Linked DNA regions of Homo sapiens: region 2 is linked to region 1. The links are contacts of gene promoters, found by promoter capture Hi-C in blood cells and fetal thymus (Javierre and others, 2016). All regions are on one chromosome and are shown on one strand. The core of a region is centred on a gene start or on the middle of the fragment in contact, and the rest is flanking DNA. Distances in the headings are between cores, read along the strand shown.

Region 1 (7,533 bases), core at 1,990-4,489:
AAAATATGGTGAAGTTGAAGAAGCACTTCTGCCTTACGATATTTTCAATTTATAATGGATGGGTTTATTCAGACATAACTCCATTGTAAGTCGTAAAGCTTCTGTACTGAAAAAAATCACTTGACCTCAGGGTATAAGATGGATTGCAGGGAGCAAGCCTTGGCCAGGAGACTTTTGCATTGGTTTCGGAGAGGAAAGACGGTGACTTGACATATATAGTGGTGATGAGGGGAGGACAGATTTGGAAGATGTTTAGGAAGCAGAATTAATAGAACTTGGTGATTGATAGGACTTGGTTGGATTTGAGGTTAAGGGAGAAGGAGGACATAGGGTTGACGCTCAGATTTCTAGTTTAAGCAGCTAACAGGATTGTGCCATTTACTCAGAGAATGTTAGAGGAGCCAGTTTCATGAGGCAGAGAAGATGAGATCAGTTTAGGATATTGGGTGCTTCTGAGACAGCCATTGGAGATGCTAGTAGTTAGTTGAGTTTTTAATTCCAAGAAAGACTGGGCTGGAAATATGGATTAGGGAGTCACCTGCATATACAGATTATAATTAAAGTCTTGGGAACGAAGAGGGCCTTTGGAGATCCCAGCTCCAGTTTAGACTGTGGAGAGGCCACCTGAGGTCATGAGCACTATTGGAGCATGCCCTATTAGCATATGCGTCTTCTACTTCTTCCCCTTCACTCATCTCTGCTTCCAGTTATCCCTTGAAAACACAGGCTGTTCATCCCAGTTGTGCCCATTGCTACCACCAACTCTTGCATGGGCCTCCTTTAATGGCCTCCCAACATTTCATAAGATTTCCTCTCGCATCCTCACCCCAAAGGATCAAAGCTTCCAAATATTAGTAGTTGTGTGGATATTTTGGATGTAATTGGAAGGAAGAATCAAAGTTCTCCTTCCTCATCTGGACACAGGAAAGGAGGGAACACATTATGGTTAATTCTGAAGATGTTGCTCACAGCAGGTTCTAGATGCAATCCGATAGCTCCCCTCTGTTCCTAGTGCTTTCAGTCCTCCCTGCTTCCACTCTGGTAGGAAACTCTCCTCAGGATCAGAGAAAAGCCGTGGCCTTGACCAGGGAAACAGAGGCTGATTCTCAGGGGAGATGAGGTCAGGGAGACAATGCAACTAGGACGAAGAAGCCAAATAGTTTGGCACAAATTAATTTCCCAAAAGATATTAACCTCGTTTCTTTCCACATTCCCTAAGGCTACACTAAGATTATAAAAGGTGTTCAAAATGTTGAGATGAAAATAATATGCATGACTTGTTTGCATATAATTTTCATACTCATTTACTATCTAAATACAAAGGAGTCATTTTCCTTCTCCATTCTACTTCCTCCACCCCTTGCCCCTGATGTTTTAGTCTGGGCAAAAGTAGTTGGCTGGTTTTTAAAAAATTTTTTTGAGACGGAATCTCCCTCTATCGCCCAGGCCTGAGTGCAATGGCACAATCTCGGCTCTCTGCAACCTCCGCCTCCTGGGTTCACGCGATTCTTCTGCCTCAGCCTCCCAAGTAGCTGGGACTACAGGTGCACGCCACCACACCGGCTAATTTTTGTATTCTTAGTAGAGACGGGGTTTCACCATACTGGCCAGGCTGGTTGCAAACTCCTGACCTCGTGATCCCGCCGCCTCTGCCTTCCAAAGTGCTGGGATTACAGGCGTGAGCCACCGCTCCCGGCCGTTGGCTGGTATTTAATTAGGTATGTTTAGCTTCATCTAGGGTTTCTTTAAAAAAAATTATTATTTATTTTTGAGAATTTTTTTGAGACGGAGTCTTGCTCTGTCGCCCAGGCTGGAGTGCAGTGGCCGTGATATTGGCTCACTGCAACCTCTGTCTCCCGGGTTCAAGCGATTCTCCCGCCTCAGCCTCTCGAGTGGCTGGGACTATAGGCGTGCGCCACCACGCCTGGCTAATTTTTGTATTTTTAGTAGAGATAGGGCTTCACCATGTTGGCCAGGCTGGTCTGAACTCTTGACTTCAAGTGATCCGCCCGCCTCAGCCTCCCAAAGTGGTGGGATTACAGGCGTGAGCCACCGCGCCCGGCTGCTTCAGCCAGGGTTTCTTTTCCTTATTCTTGATCCTTTTAAAATAGTCAATATCAGCCTCTTTTCCATCCTGATCATTTTCATTTGCAATTTCCTCTACACGGCATTTCTTTTCTTCCTCTTAATACTTACTCTGTATCACCAGTCTTCTGTGGACCAAAACCAAAGGGAGAAGGTGTTCGCTAGCCCTAAAACCAGGCCTTCGATCTCCACAGTCACCTGAAATGAGAAAAATCTCATTTCCCAACACCAGGGGGTGTCTATCCCTCTAACTGTCCTACCCTTAAGGTAGAGATTAGTCCCAAACCTTTTCCTCACTCCTTTTCACTGCTTCTACATACACACTATATCTCTTTCCCTCCCTCTCAAAGTAGAGATTAGTCCCATTTTCCTGACTCCTTTTCACTGCTTTTACAAATCACAAAACTTTTGGGTCCAGAAGGTGGTGCCTTTTTATTGCAGTTTATCTGTTTGTCTCTCATTCTCTCTGGACAAGCTTGTCCTTTCCTTTGTCTGCGCACCCTTCGGTCTCTGCATCGTCCACACTCCTCTTTGCTCCTCAGCTCTCCCTTTCTTTCGCTACCTCTTCCCTCTTCCACCTCTCTCTGTGGGCTTCGTCGCCTTTCAGGGCTATCTTTACGTACACGTCTCTGAACCTCTTTATGCATTTGTCTTCTTTCTCTCTGTCTTCCTCTTTATGGCTCTCTCCTTGTCTCACCATTTCTGTACCAGTCTCTCTCCATCTCTCCCACAGTCCCCACGCTGGGAACAAAGTCACGGTGCTAGCGCAGAACATGCCTCCTGTCGTCCGGTCCCGGGACGCGACACATTCCACCATGCCCCTCCGCGCATTCCAACTGCAGACAAAGAGTCCCCGTCCCCTACCCCCACACTCTTTCCTATTCCAATTCTTCAGTGTTGTAGGGGCAGCTGCCCCAACTGCCCCTGCCCGCCTCTCACGTCCAGTCCGCGGGTCTCCACATCCAGGGCAGTTAGCGCCTTCCGCTGCACGCACACCAGCTATCCCTGCGCGGACACCCCCGGCGCTCTCGCACACACCGCGCTCCGCCCCCCTAGGAAAGTAGATCCGGCCAGGCAGACAAAAGTTTGGGAGAGAAGTTCGGTCTGTGGCTAGCGTGAGAGCTAGGGGGGCGGGGGCCGGGGAGAGTGGGGCAGTCGGGCGAGTCGACGCGTGAACAGATAGACCTGCGGACTGGACAGCCGCGGCCAGAGACCCTGCTAGCCCCGCTCAGCCCCAGATGCGCGGGGGGACGCAGCCCCTCCCGCTGGGGGATGCTGTGGGATTCCTGGCGCAGGGCATCCAGGCCGCCCGCTAAGCCCCTGTGCCTCCCCTGTGCCCCTGGGGAACCAGAGTCCGGCTGCAGGGAAAGAGAACCGGCCGCCGAGACGCCGCAGGGTGCCAGGCGGGGAGGGGGCGAGAGGCCCCAGGCCCGAGGGCATGGAGCGGTTAGGAGAGAAAGCCAGTCGCCTGCTGGAGAAGTTCGGCCGCAGAAAGGGTGAATCTAGCCGGTCTGGGTCTGACGGGACCCCCGGGCCGGGCAAGGGGCGCCTAAGTGGGTTGGGGGGACCTAGGAAGTCAGGGCCCCGAGGAGCTACTGGGGGACCTGGGGATGAGCCGTTGGAGCCGGCCCGGGAGCAAGGTTCCCTGGACGCTGAGCGAAATCAGCGCGGCTCCTTTGAGGCGCCGCGCTACGAAGGCTCTTTTCCCGCGGGGCCGCCGCCCACCCGGGCCTTGCCTCTACCTCAGTCGTTGCCCCCCGATTTTCGGCTGGAGCCCACGGCCCCGGCCCTCAGCCCCCGCTCTAGCTTCGCCAGTAGCTCGGCCAGCGACGCGAGCAAGCCGTCCAGCCCCCGGGGCAGCCTGCTGCTGGACGGGGCGGGGGCTGGCGGAGCTGGAGGTAGCCGGCCCTGCAGCAATCGCACCAGCGGCATCAGCATGGGCTACGACCAGCGCCACGGGAGCCCCTTGCCAGCGGGGCCGTGCCTGTTTGGCCCACCCCTGGCCGGAGCACCGGCAGGCTATTCTCCCGGAGGGGTCCCGTCCGCCTACCCGGAGCTCCACGCCGCCCTGGACCGATTGTACGCTCAGCGGCCCGCGGGGTTCGGCTGCCAGGAAAGCCGCCACTCGTATCCCCCGGCCCTGGGCAGCCCTGGAGCTCTAGCCGGGGCCGGAGTGGGAGCGGCGGGGCCCTTGGAGAGACGGGGGGCGCAACCCGGACGACACTCTGTGACCGGCTACGGGGACTGCGCCGTGGGCGCCCGGTACCAGGACGAGCTAACAGCTTTGCTTCGCCTGACGGTGGGCACCGGTGGGCGAGAAGCCGGAGCCCGCGGAGAACCCTCGGGGATTGAGCCGTCGGGTCTGGAGGAGCCACCAGGTCCTTTCGTTCCGGAGGCCGCCCGGGCCCGGATGCGGGAGCCAGAGGCCAGGGAGGACTACTTCGGTGAGTGAGAGAAGTGGTTAGGGACGGGAAGGGACCCGTCACGGTATTCGGTTCTCCACTGCCCCGACGGCCCAAAGTGCCGGTGCCCCGGGGTCCGAGGTGAAGACGCGGGACTAGGAAAGAAGCAAGAGGGATGGATGGGGGCGGCCCCAGAGCACTGTCCCCTTCCTGCTAGTTTTCAGATGAACCAGGGCTCCTTATTTCTGCTAAATTCAACCCCCCTGGTATCTCGTGAGTCCGTTTCTCAAGCATTTGAACCTCGGTTTTTTGCGGCAGGAGGCCTCGTAGGGAAGGGACCAAGTGGGGCAGTGAAGGCGCATCCCCCCCAACTTGCTCCCCCCTTTCACGGCGGTGCCCCTGGAGGTTTGTGCGCGCCGCGCCCCCACCCGGGCCCAGGCTCCGCCCGCAGGAATTCGGAGAATGCGCGGGTGGGGGGGCGGGGCAGGCTGGCCGCGTGCGTGCCGACTCCTGCCCGGGCGCTCCAGGTGCCCGCGGGCGGGGCGGCTGCCGCCGCGCGGCGGAGGGGTGGGGTTCGGGGATCGGGGGACGCTCCCTAGCATACGCGGAGTAGTGGCGGCTGTCGGGGAAATGGAGCCTGGGAGACAGGATGGAGCGCCCTGGGACCCAACTGCTGTCCCTCCCCAGTCCTGTTGGCTAGGTGCGTGCGTGGGCATTTAATCAGAGACCCAGTAGTACCAGCTTCTATTTTCCCCATCCTCCGGAAGTCAGGGTAAAAGTCATGACTACTGGGACACCATTACCTCTGGATGGATAACGACCCTGTGTTATTGCCAGAAATAACTTGGCCTTGAATTCTGCTTATAACCTCTCAGAATTCAGGCCAGAAGTAGCGCCTTACTTCCTGACACTGTTAAGGAAACCTGGTCGCTGTCTCCCTCCCCTACTCTGTTCAGGAAGTATTGATTGATTATATGTCTCAGCTATGAGGAACATTAGGGTCTTGAAAGATCTTTTAGTCAAAATTCACAGGCACTGCTACACACATAAAAAACTTCGAATCTGATTGTGATTGGAAAGAAGTGGCAGGCTTACCGCCTAAGGGCTGTGGGCCTCTTTCACTTTTCTAAGCATCTCTTCTTACCACTCATGCCCCACTCCTGGACCCCATGCTGTAGAACTCTATGGCTAGAAAAGTGAATAGGAAGAGGAACGCGGCCAGGGAGGGATGGTTGGGTAGGAGGTTCAGAGGTAGCAGGGCGGCAGGCTATAAGGGCATAACTCAACCCCCAGCCTCCACCCCCATTCTTTTCCCCACCTCCAAATCCACCGAGAGGAAAGCCCAGAGGAGATGATGCCAAACCGCTTTGATCAAGGAAGACTGAATGACAGGGCCCATTTAGCAGTTTCATTTTGAGGCCCAGGAGAGGTGGCTAGTAAAGAAGTCTTTTTGGCTGAACCATCAGAGCCAAAAGGAAGAAAGGAACTCAGAGAAACTGCAATAAAATGGCAGGAAGAACATAGGTATAGATATGCTGGGTTAGAGGAGGTGAGGCCAACGTGCCTGAGCAGTTTCGTTTGCTTTTCCCATAACGTCCAAGGTTTCCTAAAGAATGGCTCCGACAGGACCCCCTGGCATGGCAATCTTGGGGCAGATCTTCACTTCCATGAGGAAGCCACATTTTGAATTCAGAGATGGGGGCCCCTTCTCCTTGGGAGTCAGGTTGCCTCCTTTGACAGAACCCCTACATACCCCTTGTGCCGCTAGCCCCAGCTTGACTGTACCCTCCTCCTGCCCCTAGTAGGGGCCCTCTTCCTTGGCTTCAGCCTTGCCCAGCTGCCAGAGGGTGGGAGCAGGACAGGCCTGGGCCCATCAGTTGCTGCAGCTGCTGCACAGGCTCCCAAGCCCCTGGGCAAAGACTGGGATGGGCCCCAACAGGCAGGGAGTGTGGCAGCGTGCCGAGGGGGAGAGGTGGGGCAGGCCCGTTGGGATCTGCTCCCCAAAGACAGGCCCTAGCCCTCACTCATGGGCCTGGAATTGGGGAGTGGAGGGAGGGAAGAACACACCCAGGAAAGGCAAGTCCCAGAGCCAGGTGTATATATCTTAGTGGGGGATTTTGGGGAATAGCAAGCAGTTCAGTTCTGTATTCTTCCCATGATAGAAGGTGACTAGGAGGCATCAGGGGCTCTGCTACTCTCCCTGCTTTCCTGTTCAACCCTGGTTCCTGGAACACACCCTGCATTCTCAGCAGCCACCTCCCCACAGGAATCATGCTCACATGGTCCCCTCTGCACGGAGCCCTCTGCCAAGCCAGATCCTTTTCTCCATCCTTGGAAGTCTGCAGTGGAGAGAAATCATTCTATAACTGAACAGCTCGTTTGACTGATGGGAAACTGAAGTCCCAGAGACGATTTCTGGGCCTAGCCTGCTTTCTCTAGAAAGTATTTTCAAGTCTGCTGCTGAGCACCTGTGGACTGGCATCTTTGACCGTTCATCCTACACACTGCAACAGAGATCATACCTTGCCTGTGTAGTCTTTTCTCCCCAACAGAAACTAAGCATCTGAATGCCAGGGACCATATCTTCGACTTTCTCCAGGTTTCCTTAGGTAGTGGTGCTGTGTTAAGCACAAAACAGATGCTCAGAAAATATCTGTTGAGTAATTAAATAAACAAGAATGGATCTGCTCAGCCAAGATCTTGCTGCATCTCATTACTCGTTATCTTCTCTACTCAGAAGGGAGCCCATCAAAGGGAGACTGTGACCCCTGGCACATCAGGAAAGGGCAGTCAGGAAAGCTTGGGAATCCCTGGTTTTGACCTGGGGGAGTAGAGTGTGACACTTTTCTCTTCTCAGGCACCTGTATCAAGTGCAACAAAGGCATCTATGGGCAGAGCAATGCCTGCCAGGCCCTGGACAGCCTCTACCACACCCAGTGCTTTGTTTGCTGCTCTTGTGGTGAGTGTAGCCCCAATACTCAAGCACTCCCCTCCCCTGCCCACATACACACTTACAAGTGCTATGGGGAACAGGAGGAGAGCTTGT
Region 2 (7,533 bases), core at 1,319-3,818, 92 kb before region 1:
AGCCAAAAGTTCACTCTACTTCCTTTGAAATTTTTTGGTTTTTCCCTTCTGGAATGGGTACGCTATCCTTTGGAAAAGGGTTTTTCTTCTGGGACCATAAAGTGAAAACTCAGCGGATTCTGGAAGGTATTCAGGATTCCCCAGCTACATCATCGATGAGGAAATGGGGTGACATTTTCTCTTCCATATCCCTCAACCAGACATAATACCTGCCCCCCTCCTCCCAATTCCATGGAGGTACATTTTACATTCCATTTTACAAAAGCATGTCCTTTGTGAAATGGCAGTTTTGAAGTGGGTATTGACAGCCTGCTACTAATTGGGCCTGAGGAACTGCTTCCGATGCACCTTGGGAAGAAAGTGATTTTCTGAAAAGCTCTTTGCTAGCCTTAAAATTCTGTGGGTTTATGAGATCCTAGCAACAGAAAGGCATTTTATTTTGTTTTGAAGCAGCTTTTTTTCTGGACATTCCCATGCAAGTCCAGGGCACATGAAGCTTGGAGTCATAGAGTTTCCTGTCCCCCCACTCCAGGTAAAGGTGGTTTTGATCTTCATTTTATGACTGAGATAATTTAGTCACATTGATTCTAATAAGATGATAGGCAAGTGGCATCTTGGGCAAATACTTAGATTGTCCATTGTTGCCTAGGCCCGCTTCAGTGGAGTAGTGTATAGAAGGGAAATGCAGTCTTCACTGAGGAGCAGTTCACACACATCACTCGTACCTGCTTTCCTTCTACCTGCCTATCACATGGGTTGTTCAACATTCTAACAAAACAGCATGCCCAGAAGCCTAAACCCATAGGCATTGGATCTGGTAAATAAATCTTTGAGAAGGTTGCATACATTTCTGGAGGCCCTACCACAACTGATTAACAACACCCTTCCTGGTCTCTCACCCCTCCAGAGTGTTAAGTGTGCAGTCTGGCAGCCCTCTAGAGCTCTGGCCAATTTTGAAAGCGTAATCAACAATGCTAAATGGAAAAGACCATTTATGGCATGGCCAGGCGTGGTGACTCATGCCTGTAATTGCAGCACTTTGGGAGGCCAAGGCAGGTGGATCACCTGAGGTCAGGAATTCGAGACCAGCCTGACCAACATGGTGAAACCCCGTCTCTACTAAAAATACAAAATTAGCCGGGCATGGTGTGCACCTGTAATCCCAGTTACTCAGGAGGCTGAGACAGGAGAATCGCCTGAACCCGGGAGGCGGAAGGTGCGGTGAGCTGAGATCACGCCATTGCACTCCAGCCTGGGCAACAAGAGCGAAACTCCGTCTCAAAAAAAAAAAATGGAAAAGACCATTTATGGCCTAACCTTGGTTTTTCTGTCTGTCTCAACAAGAAGTCATATGACTTTAAAAAACAGAGCAGTAAAGTGTTAAAAAAAAAAAAAATTAGACTTCAAGGACCTGTCACCATTTGGAAGAGATTGACTGACTTTTTGCTGTGTTTGGTTAAATCCATTCTGATTCTGATTGTGCCTGAGGAATTCTAAATTTATGAGGTAAGGTGTCTTTTTCATTGCTTGGAGCAGGAATTTGTGGGTCCTCAGTCCTGTTTCAGTTGAGTGCTGTTCAAAACTCTGGTCTTCTGCCTTGTATGGGTATAACAAAAATGTCCCCATATAGCAGAAAATAATGGTATTCTCTTTTTACTTAAAAAAAAAAAAAAAAAAAGGGGAAGAAAGAAAAGAGGGGATTTGTTTGTGTGGGCAGCTGTATCATTCAGCTGTAGTTAATTCAGACCTGGATTTCTCTAGATACAACCTTCCTGTATGCACAGACCTAGCAGGCAATAGCAGTTTTAGGCTCTTGGTACAATGCATGTTTGTCCTTCTGCCTGTGTAGGAGGAAGGTATTGGTTCCTTAAGCCAATATGATGGTGTAATTGATATTCCCCAGGGGACATACAATGCCAATATCCCAAATGATGCATGAAAAAGCAGAATTTGTTGTCATCAATAGAGTTTGCTCCACTGAGAAATTATCTAAGGACATATACCCCAAAATCATACTGTTCTAGGTTATCTTGGGACCAGTATGCTTCTGAGGGTATCTAGTCCCACTGTTTCTTATTAAATTTTCACGTCAGTTTTTCAGCTCCTCGTGAATTTTCTATAATAACTAAAATTTCAGCATATATGCCTATAGGAATTTCCTTTTCCATTAGCTTCTCTGAATCTCATATTCACATATGAGTTGTAATGTGATATTATTAGCCTCCAAGTAGTTGTACCCTTTTCTTCTGGGCTTCTTTGTGTACTGTTTACTTATGGGTAGATATCCCCACTGCTTATTCTGTGCAGTTTCACAGACTGTTAAGCTATGTTGGGCTCTGACACATGGTTAACAAGGTTTTGGTACTAGTCCTGCAAGTAGATAGAGTCCATTTTGGGGACAGTTTCAAGGATTCCTCTTTATCTTTTTTCTTTTTTGGAGACAGAGTCTCACTCTGTCACCCAGGCTGGAGTGCAGTGGCCCGATCTCTGCTCACTGCAACCTCCGCCTCCTGGGTTCAAGCAATTATCATGCCTCAGCCTCCTGAGTATCTGGGACTATAGACGCGGCTGCCACACCCTGCTAATTTTTCTATTTTTAATAGAGATGGGGTTTCACCATGTTGGCCAGGCTGGTCTCAAACTCCTGGCCTCAGGCAGTCCTCCTGTCTCAGCCTCCCAAAGTGTTGGTATTACAGGCGTGAGCCACCATGCCCGGCCCTCATTATTGTCTGAAAATAAAATGTTCGGAATTGTTGGGTCCCACAGAATTGATCATGGGGAAATAGAAAACACACGCCTCTTGTGTCTTAAGAGGGTAAAGGAGAACGTGGTAAGATTCTTATTCTTAAAAAAAAGAAATTTTCGGCCGGGCATGATGGCTCACGCCTGTGATCCCAGCACTTTGGGAGGCCGAGACGCGCGAATCACAAGGTCAGAAGATCGAGACCATCCTAGCTGACACAGTGAAACCCCGTTTCTACTAAAAATACAAAAAATTAGCCGGGTGTAATGGAGGGTGCCTGTAGTCCCAGCTGCTCGGGAGGCTGAGGCAGGAGAATGGTGTGAACCCCGGAGGCGGAGCTTGCAGTGAGCTGAGATTGTGCCACTGCACTCCAGCCTGGGCAACAGAGTGAGACTCCGTCTCAAAAAAAAAAAAAAAAAGGAATTTTCAATAACAAAATTTCTCAAAATCAGCCACTTCTGCAGAGGCATATTAGCAGCTGAGAGTATTTTAGGACAGTGGATAAACAGAGCATTTTATTTGAGGATGGCTGAAGGTAACATTTTCTGTGGTGTAACATTGTTTGTGGGGATTCTATTAAAAAAATTTTTTTCTTTTTTTGAGATGGAGTTTTGCTCTTGTTGCCCAGGCTGGAGTGCAATGGCACGATCTCGGCTCACCACAACCTCTGCATCCTGGGTTCAAGTGATTCTCCTGCCTCAGCCTCCCGAGTAGCTGGGATTACAGGCATGCACCACCACGCCCAGCCAATTTTGTGTTTTTAGTAGAGACAGGGTTTCTCCATGTTGGTCAGGCTGGTGATCCGCCCACCTCAGCCTCCCAAAGTGCTGGGATTACAGGCGTGAGCCACCATGCCCAGCCAAAAAATTTTTTTTTCAATAAGAAAACTTTTAGGTTAGCAAGCATTTAGTAAGTGTCCACTTGGTACCCACAATGACACCCTAATTCAGAAATAGTTAGGGAACATTACTTTGTGTTAGGCCCTGGGCTAGGGGCCAAGAGATGCAATCCCTACCCTTGAGGAATTATGCAGGGTAGAGATGGGGGGCAGATAAAGTAGCAGTTATTATACAGAGTGATAAGGGCATTGCTGAAAACCTGTCATGCCAATCACTGAATGGCTTTGCCTCAGAAAACAAGCAGTCTACTCTTTTGAGGAAACTCAGAGCCCCAGAGGTGGCATCAGATGAGATAATGGCCTATTAAGTGTGCATGTATTTTACATGTATCTGTACCTTCACTTGGGGTGTCCTCCAAGCCAGACTCTTAAGAGCTAACACTTAACTACACTGTTCCATGAAATAGGTATTGTCACTATGCCCACTTTGCAGATTACAAGACAGATATACAGAACCAGGAACTTGCCTACTATCACACAACTTTTAACAGAGTGGGGCTAGCCAGTCTGACTCCAGAGTCTTCACTCTTAACCCTGAGCAGACAGGGACCACTATGTGAAAGGAAACATTTAAAGTAATGTATAAATATGGCCACTTTAGCATGCAGTTGGCATTGTAAGTGTAAGATTTTAAGCAGCGGGGAGAAAATTTCATTCCTAGCTTAAAAGCTCAAATGTTACACGAGACACTGAGCTTTGGTTCTCAGAAGTTTATCTTAGTGTAAACTTCTACTGCCACTAGGACACAAAAGGAACATCTCTGCAGTCAACAAATAAGCATTTTGAGTATCTACTGAGCACTTTTTGAACTATTAGCATCTGTTTCCCACTTTGGTCTAGTGAAGATTCCCATGATTAATATTTTCTGCTTAGTTCCCAGTCGCTTTCTGCCCAGCTGATCTTCCCCGCCCCATATAGCAGCACTCTCACTTCACTGTCTTATCTACTTTAGAGCCTCACCTTGGAGCCCTTGCTTCAAGAAGTGGCCTTCAAGCTTCAGCTACCCAAGGTCCCCTTGCCCTGTTTATCCTTTCTTTTTCTGGCCCGAGTGGACCCTGGGGCAGGGTGACCTTATTAAAGACTCTATAAAACAAAGTTGTCTGTCATCTCTTCAGAGACACCAACCCTGCCCCCCTTCTACTGGTATTTGAAAAAAGAACTCTCCCTGCTATCCACTTCCCTCCACCATCCCTGGGAAAAGGACATGTTGGAGTAGTAACACGTGGTCATTGCCGGGGTGAGCAGCCAGTTACTGTAGTGATTGGATAGTGACAATTCCCATCCCACCTCCCTACCTGCAGCATCTGACTGGTTGGTCTGGTTTCAGTGTTCCATGCCTAGATTACTGGATAGAGGATGGTAGGCACATAAAACATTGCTCATGCCCCACCCTCTATCCAGCTTTCATTACCATCCTTCTTTAATCACTTTTCAACTTTGGCTTTATCGTTCTTATTTAATCCTTTTTCACTCCCACCTCTACTGTTTGCCTGCCTTCTATTCTCTCTATTTTCTAGAATCTTCCAATCAAGCAGCTGTAACTTTACATGTCCTCCACCCAGCCCCCTCCCCTGCCCCCTGGGAAGACCAGGAGGGAGCACTCCAGCCCTGGGGGGTTAAGCCTCTGTAGCTGCTGTAACTTGAGAAAAGAAGGCCAGGCCTCTGGAGCCAGCAGTCGGCTCCCTGTGGCCTGCCAAAGGATAAGAACCTTGCTCACTCAGCTCCCTCCCTCTTTTCTTTCCCCTCCCCTGCTGCAGCAAGGCCCTCCCCCATCCGCACACACAGGCTGCTGGGTAAGTGGCAAGATGGCTCCCCTGCATGTCTCCGGCTGATCGCTGCCGCTCCGCCAATACAATAGAGCCAGCCACTACCAGCAGCCTGGCCCTCTTCCTCCTTCTCCAGAGAGACCAATCCAGCCGAACTCGGGGTTTGCCGTGAGGACTTAACGCTTATCTCTTAAAAGCCAGATCTGTTTTAGCCTCCCCGCACCACCACCACCTCCCCTTCCATTTACCATTTTTTGGATCCCCGGTTGCTACATCTCAATTTTCTCTCTCTGGATCGGGTGGCTGGGGAGGAGGTGGTGGGATCTTGGAACAAGGAAGGTGTGGTTTTTTTTCTTTATTTTTTTTAGGATTTTTTTTGTTTGGTTTTTGTTATTTCTTCCATTCCAGAAAGGGATAAACAGCACTTCCAGGGGGAGAAAAAAAATCATGTTATCAGAAAGCAAAGAAGGGTGAGAGCTTCACATTTCCATGTATGCCTTTTCCCCGCCGCCCTAGCTCCCTTCGTCTTCCTTCTCTTCCTCATGGCTTTCATTCCGTCTTTCGTTTTGGTTTGTTTTCAGTCATTCTGCCTTCCCCCTTTGTCCTGCCTGCCCAGTTTCTAATTGGCCCCACATGCCCTTTCTGTATGGGAAATAGATATTTTTTTTGTATAAGCCTTTTCTCTAGATGTAAGCAGCTAAATCTCGTGTTTCTCTGGGGGCCTGTTTAGCTGGGGGCACAGTTCCGATTTTCCCCTCCCCCTAACCCCCCTAGTGCATCCCTTCTTGACTGCTCTAGGGAGGTTCTTCTGACCTCTGAGTGTCAGTCAGTCAGCCTGTTGGGAATGCTGACTTTTCTGGTGGTGGTTATCGGCCTGGGAGGCTTGGTTTCCCCTCTCCTGAGCCTTAGGCCTCTGATCATCTTGATTTGATTTTTTTTGCTTGGTGTTTGGGTGGTAGAGGGGGTGAGATTTGAGATAGAAGTTGGGGACGAAGACAGAAATCAAAGGTGGAAAGATAGTTTATCTGAAGTGAATCTCTGGGATTCTTTGCCTGAAATGGGAGCTAACTTGTGAGATTAAGAGTGGGAGAGTGGGTTTGGTGTTCTTGGGGGAAGCTGCCTGTGTGGGGGAGGGTGTGTCCTGACTAGGAGGCCTGCTCTCTTTATCTCTTGGAAGTTGGAATGAGGGAGTGGGAGAAACTGGGTGAAAGCCGAATGTAGGAACAGTTTCTACACCTCTGAGCAGGTAAAAGTGGCCCTAATCTCTGAGCTCTCATACTCAATTCAGCAGTTTTAATTTTTCCTTTTGAATGAGAGAGGGTCCTTGAAGCTTGAACCTTCACCAGGCCTGCTTCTTCCCTGCAGCTCCCACCCCCCGCCCCGCACCCCCCACCCCCCACCATTTTCTCCATGCTGGTGTCTCCAGATCCTGAGGATCAGCAGGCCTTTACTTATTAAGCAGTTGATTAAACACAGGTCAGGCTTTTTTGCCAAAGCCTTGGCCATTCTTTCTTGTCTTTTTAAGGGAATCGGGCTTCCCTTCGTTTCTCGTGCAATTTTGCCATATAAAGGTGCCTTTGGCCAGGGAGACTGAGGCCACAGGGTTGTGGGCAAATCACAGTCACTTTTGTGGGACTATTTTCAGAGGAGGGTTTTTCTCCTTTCATATAGGAGTACTCTGGTGAGTTATTACCTGAGAATAGTTGGAGTCCTAACCCCACAAATGACAACTTTTAACTCATCTGGGCAATAGGTGGATGTGGTTGCTGTGATCCACGCTCTTTCCCCAAGGAAAATCTATTTCCCACTTTTCCCATTGGGACAAGGTCTCTAACCTTGATCAGAAAAGCAGCCCTCCTAATCCCACCCAAGTGATGAGGCAGGAGGGTTTCCTGACCCAGTAACTAACATCTTGCTCTCTCTTCCCCTTGGTTCTTTTCTGCCCGCCCCCCCACCACCACTCCCCCCTCCTGTCAGTGAGGAGAAGGAGGAAGTGACCATGGACACAAGTGAAAACAGACCTGAAAATGATGTTCCAGAACCTCCCATGCCTATTGCAGACCAAGTCAGCAATGATGACCGCCCGGAGGGCAGTGTTGAAGATGAGGAGAAGAAAGAGGTAAACA

What was found. The method cuts DNA at HindIII sites, captures the fragments that hold promoters and counts their contacts. A CHiCAGO score of 5 or more calls a contact.
Region 2: a contact is called between a fragment that was not itself captured here and the fragment with the promoter of AJUBA in region 1, in 1 of 17 cell types (erythroblasts). The highest score is 5.5, in erythroblasts.

The regions. Positions count from the first base shown.
Region 1 is chr14:22,978,257-22,985,789 of GRCh38, reverse strand. AJUBA (ajuba LIM protein) reads left to right here and starts at 3,239. Exons shown (of 8, transcript NM_032876.6): 1 at 3,239-4,529; 2 at 7,345-7,446. The coding sequence starts at 3,524. AJUBA-DT (AJUBA divergent transcript) reads right to left here and starts at 1,466. Exons shown (of 3, transcript XR_007064074.1): 1 at 970-1,466. It overlaps LOC124903287 (a long non-coding RNA gene), which reads right to left. Exons shown (of 2, transcript XR_007064076.1): 2 at 6,569-7,140. RefSeq lists enhancers at 2,259-3,224, 3,225-4,190. The HindIII fragment of the contact is 4,726 bases long and covers 2,563-7,288 here.
Region 2 is chr14:23,069,469-23,077,001 of GRCh38, reverse strand. It overlaps ACIN1 (apoptotic chromatin condensation inducer 1), which reads left to right. Exons shown (of 19, transcript NM_001386863.1): 9 at 7,385-7,526. Among named protein-coding and RNA genes, the nearest start is that of CDH24, 16 kb to the right of the region's middle. RefSeq lists an enhancer at 5,549-5,618. The HindIII fragment of the contact is 4,139 bases long and covers 499-4,637 here.